Linked DNA regions of Homo sapiens: all the other regions are linked to region 2. Evidence: promoter capture Hi-C in 16 types of primary human blood cells and fetal thymus (Javierre and others, 2016). All regions are on one chromosome and are shown on one strand. The core of a region is centred on a gene start or on the middle of the fragment in contact, and the rest is flanking DNA. Distances in the headings are between cores, read along the strand shown.

Region 1 (3,090 bases), core at 75-2,574, 330 kb before region 2:
CCTTGAACCCGAGAGGCAGAAGTTGCAGTGAGCCAAGACTGTGCCATTGCACTCCAGCCTGGGTGACAGAGTGAGACTCCGTCTCAAAAAAATAAAAAATAAAAATAAAAGCATATCAAAGGCCACTTTGAAGACAGAAAGTCTTCTCACACACACACACATACACACACCCCACATAATATGCAAAAGGCAGAAAGGAGGGAAAAAATGATCCCCGCTTCTTTACCTTACTGAAATGCGAAGTGTCAGTGGAAGAAAGAACAAGATCAAGTTGTGTGTGTGTGTGTGTGTATGTATATATATATATACATACACACCTATGTGTATATGCTACCAGTCAAAATCATCTCTCCTGTGAATAGCCAACCCCTCAGTTCCAGGTGACTATCCTCACTCACTCTTTCCCAGAATGAATATGAATCATGCCACCACTTCTTTTGCCAAAGCCTAAGAAGCCAGCAATACCATTCTAAAACTTTGGATTTCAAGATACACTATAAATAGTAAAGTGTTTCATGGTGCTGATTCAAATTCTAGGTCAGAGAGATGTGGATAACACCAATAATCTAGATAGACTTTTTTTAACCCTGTTGAAAATATTTTGAGTTATCAGACTACAACTGCAATAAAAGGAACAGCCCGGTAACTGATGTAAGTTAACAAGCACCTGATTTGTTACTGTCTGTGGTAGGTAAATGGTATCACATCACACATGTTGATTTGGACTAAAGAGTTGCTAATTCTTATTCTAAAGGGATCTTTTAAATTCACAATACCAAAGTCTGTCACAGCCATTGATTACAAAATTAATCTGCAATTATTAGGGTCCTTTTTTGTGAATCTTAAGAGATTTACATGCACACAAACACTATCAAGAGGCAACTCTCTTCGCTTTTCTCATAAACATATACACACACATTCATATTCACACCCAACCTTATACTTTTCCTCCTGATTCAGAGAAAGTTCTTTCTCCCTGGCATCTCAATCTCTCCTTCTCCAGTGCTGCCTCCTCCACAACATAAAAACATGATCAAGTTCCCCTTTTAACTTTGCAACTCCCTGGCTATTGTCCCTTCTTTTCTCCCCTTCACTACCTGACTTTTAAATTTTTTTGAAATTTTTATTGAGATACTTTTAGATTCACATGCATTTCTCAGAAATAATACAGAATCCCTTATACACTTTGCTCAGTTTTCCTCAGTGGTAACATTTTACAAAACTATAGTATAATTACACAACCAGGATACTGACATTGACACAATTCACCAATATTATTTAGATTTCCCAGTTTTACTTGTACGTGTGTGTGTGTGTGTGTGTGTGTGTGTGTGTGTGTGTGTTTTCTATGGAATCTCATCACCTGTGTAGGTTAATGTATGCACCCAGTCAAGATCCTGAAAAGTTCCAACACCACAAGGATCCCTCCTGTTGCCCTTTTATAACTACAACCACCTCCCTCCCACGCCCCCTTCCCTAAATTCTGGCAACCACTCTGTGTCCTCCATTTCCATAATTTTGTCATTTCAAGAATGTCATATAAATGGAATTATACAGTATGTAACCTTTAGGGATTGACTTTTCTTCACTCAGCGTAACTGCCCAAAGTTTCATTCAAGTTGTCATGTGTATCAATAGTTTGTTCTTTTTTATTGTTGACTGGTATTCCAAGGTATGCATATAGCATAGTTTGTTTCTACCTGGCTTTTTAGAAGAGTAGTTTGCTTCTCTACTTTTCATGTTTCATTCCTCAATCCACTACAATTTGACTTCTGCACATACTGCTCCATGGATATCTCATATGCTGATTGCATATTCAATGGACAATTTTTAGTACTTACCTTTCTCAAGTAGCTGACACTACTGACTCATCTCTCCCCTAAAACGCTCTTCTCCTTTGGCTTCTAGTCAAACCATTCTCTCCTGGTCGTTTTATACAGTTTTTCAGTCTACTTTTGTAGACTCTTATGCCCCTTATCCCCGTCCTTAATGGTGAAATCCTCCCAGCATTCTATCTTCAGTGTTTTCACTTCTAAAATTCTACACACCCTCCCAGTGTAATTTTACCCACACTTATAACTTCTATTGCCCCCTGTATGCTGAAGACTCTGGCCAAGATCTTTCTCTTAAATTCCATATGGATATTTTCAAATGCCTAAATGTTTTATCTTCTAAATTTAATGTCTAAGACTGAACTCATTACCTCCTTCCTCTGTATGACTGACCTAATTCCAACCACCTCCTTTCCTTCCTATAATCTCTATCTCTATGAATGGCATCACATCTATTTAGTCATCTCAAAACTTCAGACTCATCTCTACTTCTTTTCCTTCACCCTCCATAGCTAATCAGTCTCTAAGTCCCATCAACTCTATCTCCGAAATATCTGAGTTTATGCCCTCCTCTTACTCCTCACTACCATTTCTTTAAGCTCTTATAATTTATCATTTCTTTTGGATCAACAACAACAGCTTGTCCCTACTTCTGGTATTTCAAGGCCATTCTCCATACTTCTGCCAAGGTCCTCTTACTTAGACACCTATCACAAATCTGATATGTCATTCCTGCATTAAGATCTTACAATGGCTCCTCACTGTCTATGTGATAGAGCCTGACTTTTTAGCACAACATACAAAGCCCTTCAAAATCTATCTCTTGTCTACCTCTCCACCTTCTCTCACCTCTGGCACATCTACATCCTGTGCTGTCATCATTCCAAACTACATGCCATTCCCAAATGTTCTGTCTCACAAACCAGTGATTCAGGTCTCCAAATGAGGAATCTGGAGTGCTTTCTCAGGAAACCAAAATGTAGCTGGGACTTCCAGGAGGTCAAAAGAGTTGAAATCATTAATTGGTTTAATATTCAGAGGAAAAAATGTTAAATGTCTGAAAATATTATAAACTTAAAGAAAAAAATTTAAAAAATATTTTAACATGAAATACATTTGCCTGTACAGCAGCCATCTGGTTTCTTCAACTCCAGAGGATGACACTCAAATACCCTCCTGAATACGACAGAAAAAGACATGAAGTAGTTGATATAAGCTTTCTAGATGCTTGAATAAAACACAAAATAAAGTCTAAGTT
Region 2 (3,207 bases), core at 435-2,934:
ATGTTTCAGATTTTTCTCATTGCTGGTTAAAGGCGAGACTGGGAAACTTTGGGAGTCGCCATTGTGTCCATTGGGAGCCTGCTGCTGAGAGAGGGCATTTTGCTGAAAAGTGTAGCCTTCCCTCTCCAGAAGGGCCCCAGAGACGCTAAGGGCTTGCTCAAAGAGCGTCTTCTCTTCCTCGTCCTCCTCTACTTTCTCGGAGTCCTCAAGGCTTTTACATTTCCCTTCGCTGTTTTGGTTTTCCTTGCACTGGGTCTGCCTCTTGTGCTTCATCCTCCGGTTCTGAAACCACACTTTCACTTGTCTCTCAGTCAAATCCAGCAGCGCTGCAATCTCCACCCTTCGGGGTCTGCAAAGGTACTTGTTGAAATGAAATTCTTTTTCCAGCTCTAGAAGCTGTGTGTTGGTGTAAGCAGTTCTCAGGCGCCGCGATCCCCCGCCGCTGCCATCGGCGATTTCCAGGGATTCTGCGGAAAGGGAAACCAACAAGAGACACACGCACAGTTGGAGGTGGAGGGGTCCGAGCGGGGTTATTCCACTGGAGAATAAATATAGCAGAAAAGATCAACTGCAACAAAATGGCCGCCCCTGGATGCAGTAGAGCTATTGTGCTGCCTTTCCTGGGAGCCCAGCCTGGGCAGACCCCGTCTCCTCCATCTCTATCGAATTCATGCCTGTGGCTCCCCCCAACCTCTTCATCCGGGAGCAAACTTTATATTAGCCACAACACAATTTATAATTAATGCGTCAGCTGCTTAGCTGAGCAAGAGCGATCTATCACTCTTCATTACTGTCAAAAAGCCAAACTCTAGGACAACTAGACAGGAGGAGGTCAGTTCCAACTCAAATAAATCATCCCACATTACACAAGTTCGGGAAAGTTTCCCCCCACTTCCTAAAAATATATATGTCTCATTGTAGAGCGCAGGATCCCCTTTCCTCTCCATCAAACCCACTCCTGAACCCACAGGGGCAGGGACAAGGCAACCAAGCATCTCTCCCTCTCCTCCTTCTCTCCCAGCCCACTCTCCCCTCCCCCCACAGCCACTCTCGGGGCAGCCCGGAGAAGGAAGAGGGTCCCAGAGACCTGGGGCCAAGTCTTTGGACTGACCTTTGTGGCTGAGGCAAGCAGGGCCGGTGGCTGCGGCGGTGGCGGCGGCGGCGGCGGCCGGCAGAAGTGCGGTTTTCTTGGCCGCCTTCTTCTCCTTCATCCAGGGGTACTCGGGCGGCTGCAGGGCGCCGGCGGGCACCGGGCTGCCGCGGCTGCCCGCGGGGCTCGGCTTGGGGCGGCCGCCAGCGCCGTGGCGAGGGTGACTGCCGGGGTTCAGGCTGGGAATGGTCTGCTCAAAAGGAGGAGGAATCAGTGTCGAGTGTGAAAGCGTCGAGGTCTTGATTGATGAACTTTGAAATGTATCAGCGACAGGGGGAAAAGATGTCAGGCACTCAGCGAGCGACGGCTGGCTATTGATAAAACCAATCTCTCGCTCAAATTCGTAATTCATGGCCTTCTCCTTGGAGCCCCCTCAGAGAAAAAGTTCCCTCTTTTGGAGGGGCTTTGGGGGGGCAAGGCCTAGGAAAAAGGCGAGCGCAGAGGAAAAAAAATCTATCATAGAATATCGCTGCTAGGGTGTTTTTTTTCTAATTCACTGATTACAGCCGTATGGGGACCGCGCTACTATTAAACTATTGAATTCATGGAGACAAGGTTGAAATTGGACCGAATTGGCTGTCACATGATTGCTTCTGCCCAATGACAATTTGGGCTTTAATCAAAAGAAGCCACTGTCTGTTTGATTGATCCAAAAAAGTCGGGAAGGAACGCCTCATTGGGGGCCAGCGAGGCTTTATTTACACTTTTTTCAGAGCAAAAATACATATATGTTGGTGTGGGTGGGGATGTCCCGGAGTACGTGGGGGCGAGGGTGCCTGCGTGCCTCCTGATCTGCAAGGATCTATCTAGTGTGTGTGCCTGGGAGTGTGTGTGTGTGTGTGTGAATGTGCGCGAGTGTAAGCCCTGCTGTCGGTCCCGCCGGTGGCTGCCCTCTGCCTCCCCCGCACACTCCGCGCATTGTTTGGGACTGTCGGGAAGACGCCTCGCACCTCACAAATCATTTAAGCACCTCAGTCTGACGCCTGCAGTCATTAACAAAGTAATCCATTAATCTTCAAAGTTTTGACACCCGAGGGCCCTGCGTCCCAGCCACATAAGTTCTGTTAAAGCAGGAGAAAGGAGCAGAGGAAGAGAGGAGATGAGAGAGGGAGAATAAAGAGAGAGGGAAGAAGAGAGAGTTTGAGAGATGGAGAAAGAGAAGACAGAAAAGAGAGAAGAAAGGAAAGATTTTGGTTGGGAAGGGGTCTTCCTTTTCTTTCCCTTTTCCTCCTTCACTTTTCCTAAAAGCAGTTCCTGGATCTCAAAACTGATCTCTCTCGGTCTGTTTTCCTTCCTGTCTGTCCCTTTCCCTCTTTTTCCTCTTCTCCCCCTTTCTCCCTCCCTCTCTCTTCTGTCCGCCTCCCCTTCTCCCCTCAGCCTCTCGCCCCCCTCCCAGTGTCCAGCCCAGAGTCTGCGCCCCGGGCCCATTGTTAGCAGGCTATTCCACGGCAGCTTTGCATCTGGCTCCGGCGGGAAGCGGAAAACGGGAGGCGGCTCTCGAAGCTTCCCGACCTTCCTGCGCCATCAACTTCTCAGGAGTGGCTGGAGAAAGATGCATGTGCCAAGCGAGACAACAACCCCAGGTCCATGTGTCCAAATCCCCGTAGCCAGGGCGGCGGCCAGCCAAAGAAATGCCGCCCCGAGCAGGCGCGTGCGGCTCCTGGCATTCTGGGTTTCATACCCGTAGGGCTCGGGTGCGGTGAGTATTTCCGATTTCCAGGAAGTCTGTTGGAAGTTACCAGCAGGGAAAGAGAAGATGCTTGCTCCTCTCTTTCCCTCCCTCTCTCTTTTTTTTCTACCCTTCTTCTTGTCCTTGTCGCTCTGGTTGGGGGCTGGTTGGTTTAGATACAGCGAGTGCTCCCTGGCAGCCTGAACTGCCTCCCACACCTTCCTGATCCTTGGGCACCGGGGATGTTTGCTTCCGGGTTCTGTTGTGGGAAACAGCACTGCGGGGGAGAGGAGGCGACCCAAGGAGGAATTATAAAGGTTTTCGTTCTCCTTCATTATCTTTTTTCCAATTCGGAGACTTGAGACTGAGCGCATCTTGGACAGTGCTA
Region 3 (2,863 bases), core at 249-2,748, 300 kb before region 2:
CAAATGGCAGACATATGACAAGGTGCTCAACATCACTGATCATCAGAGAAATGCAAATCAAAACTACAATGAGACATCATCTCACCCCAGTTAAAATGGCTTATATCCAAAAGACAGGCAATAGCAAATGCTGACGAGCATGTGAATGACAGACAGCCCTTGTATGCTATTGGTGGGAATGTAAATTAGTACAACTACCATGGAAAACAGTTTGGAGGTTCCTCAAAAAAACAAAAAATTGAGGTACCATAGGATCCAGCAATCCCACTGCTGGATATATGCCCAAAAGAAAGGAAATCAGTATACTGAAGAGATATCTGCACTCCTACGTTTGTTGCAGCATTATTTATGATAGCTAAGATTTCAAAGCAACTAAGTGTCCATAAACAGATGACTGGATAAAGAAAATGTGGTACATATACACAATGGAGTACTATTCAGCCATAAAAAAGAATGAGATCCAGTCATTTGCAACAACATGGATGGAACTGGAAATCATTATGTTAAGTGAAATAAGCCAGGCACTGAAAGACAAACACTGCATGTTCTCACTTACTTGTGGGATCTAAAAATCAAATCAACTGAACTCATAGACACGGAGTGTAGAGGATGGTTATCAGAGGCGAGGAAGAGTAGTGGAGGATTGGAGGGGGAGGTTAATGGGTATGAAAAAAATAGAAAGAATGAATAAGACCTACTATTGAATAGCACAATAGGGTGATTATAGTCAACAGTAACTTAATTGTATATTTTAAAATAACTTAAAGAATGTAATTGGATTATTTGGAACTCAAAGGATAAATGCTTGAGGGGATGGATGGCCCATGCTCCATGATGTGCCTATGTCACACTGCATGCCCGTATCAAAATGTCTTATGTACCCCATAAATGTATACATCTACTATATACCCACAAAATTTTTTAAAAAATAATTTTAAAAAAATTTTAAAAAGAAGTGTTGGACTAAATTTCCTCTGTTATCCTTTCTAACTCTATACTTCTACAATTTGTTTTAATCAATACCACAAATTATAAGCAAAGAAGAAATATTTATACCTTACATGATAATGTTTTAGAATCCTTAACACATAATGTTTAATAAAAAGAATGTGCCGGGCCGGGCCTGGTGGTTCAGGCCCGTAATCCCAGCACTTTGGGAGGCCAAGGCGGGCAGATCACAAGGTCAGGAGATTGAGACCATCCTGGCTAATGTGGTGAAACGCTGTCTCTATTAAAATTACAAAAATTAGCCAGGCATGGTGGCACGCACCTGTAGTCCCAGCTACTCAGGAGGCTGAGGCAGGAGAATCACTTGAACCCGGGAGGCGGAGGTTGCAGTGAGCCGAAATAGCACCACTGCACTCCAGCCTGGGTGACAGAGTGAGACCCCGTCTCAAAAAAAAAAAAAAAAAGTGCCAATTTTTAATGCAGGAATAAATAAAAAGGCAATTTATTAAAAATGCAAATAATGAATAAAATATTTTTTAAATTCACCATCAACTAGTAAAAAGAAAAGCCAGTTAACAGTGAAATACCATTATTGGGAAATCCTTAAAAGATTAACAGCCAATGTATAAAAAATGCTTACTATCATGGAAAGATGTTTCCTATAGTATGAAAAAATTAAAGTATAAAACACAGTATCCAGAATATGATGTCTAATATGCACAGAAAATGTCTCTAGACAGATAATATACTACAATTTTAACAGGGGTTAGTTTTGAAATCAGATTATAAAGCTGGGCATGGTGGTGAGCAATTATATTCCCACCTACTTTAGAGGCTGATGTGGGAGGTTCCCTTGAGCTTGAGACCAGCCTGGGCAACATAGTGACACCCTGTCTCTTTAAAATAAAAAATTTTTAATCAGATTATGAAACAATCAACAGACTATGATGTCATATATGTACAGAAAATGTCTCTAGACAGTTGTATACCATAATTTTTGTAGGAATTATTTCTGTTACCAGTGATTACTTTCTTCATTATTCTAATCAGGTATGCTGATTTTAAAATGAGTTCACAAATTCCTTAACACTCCTCCTTCGAAAGGCAGAGCCTAATCCCTTTCCCCTTGAATGGGGGTCAACTTCACCCATTTGATTCTAAAGGACAGAATGTGGCTAAAGTGATGCTATGTGACATCTGAGACTAGGTCATAAAAAAATATATAGCTTCTACTCGGCTCTTTCTTCGGGGGAAGCCAGCTACAAAGTCATGAGGGCACTCAAGTAGACAGTGGAAAAACTCATGTGAAAAGGGACCAAGGCCTCCTGACAACAGTCAGCACCAACTTGCAGCCATGTGAGTGAGCCTCCCTGAAAGTGGATTCAAACTTTCGGATCACTGCAGCCTCAGCTAAAATTCTGACTGCAATTTCATGAATAGTTCTAAGCCAGAGACTGCTAAGCCATTCCCCAATGCTTGACTCACAGAAATGTGAGAATAAAAGGTTTATTACTTAATAATAAATATATGTACACTTCATTTTATTGCATTTCACTTTATTGCACATTGCAGACATCGCACCTTCTACAAGTTGACGGTCTGTGGCAACTCTGTCGAGAAAGTCTATCGGCACCATTTTTCCAACAGCATGTGTTGGCTTTGTGTCTCTGTGTCACCTTTTGGTAATTTTCACATCTGAAACTTTTTCATTATTATTATATCTGTTACGGTGATCTATAGTTACCATTGTAATTGTTTTGGGAACCATGAGCCACACCCATATAGGATAGCATATTTCATTGATAAATATTGTGTATGTTTTGATTGTTCCACTGACTGACTCTTCCCCTTGTCTCTCTCCCTCTCCTTGGGCTTCCCTATTCCCTGAGACATAACAATATTGAAATTAGGCCAA

Evidence for each region. The method cuts DNA at HindIII sites, captures the fragments that hold promoters and counts their contacts. A CHiCAGO score of 5 or more calls a contact.
Region 1: a contact is called between a fragment that was not itself captured here and the fragment with the promoter of HOXA2 in region 2, in 1 of 17 cell types (neutrophils). The highest score is 6.3, in neutrophils.
Region 3: a contact is called between a fragment that was not itself captured here and the fragment with the promoter of HOXA2 in region 2, in 1 of 17 cell types (neutrophils). The highest score is 5.3, in neutrophils.

Annotation. Positions count from the first base shown.
Region 1 is chr7:26,774,228-26,777,317 of GRCh38, forward strand. All of the region lies in intron 4 of SKAP2 (src kinase associated phosphoprotein 2), which reads right to left. Among named protein-coding and RNA genes, the nearest start is that of SKAP2, 89 kb to the right of the region's middle. The HindIII fragment of the contact is 3,443 bases long and covers 1-3,046 here.
Region 2 is chr7:27,100,999-27,104,205 of GRCh38, forward strand. HOXA2 (homeobox A2) reads right to left here and starts at 1,685. Exons shown (of 2, transcript NM_006735.4): 1 at 1,112-1,685; 2 at 1-467. The coding sequence starts at 1,502. RefSeq lists an enhancer at 1,520-2,359. The HindIII fragment of the contact is 6,069 bases long and covers 1-2,651 here.
Region 3 is chr7:26,803,344-26,806,206 of GRCh38, forward strand. The region is part of intron 4 of SKAP2 (src kinase associated phosphoprotein 2); the gene reads right to left. It overlaps LOC124901606 (a long non-coding RNA gene), which reads left to right and starts at 2,219. Exons shown (of 3, transcript XR_007060265.1): 1 at 2,219-2,304. The HindIII fragment of the contact is 3,407 bases long and covers 1-2,863 here.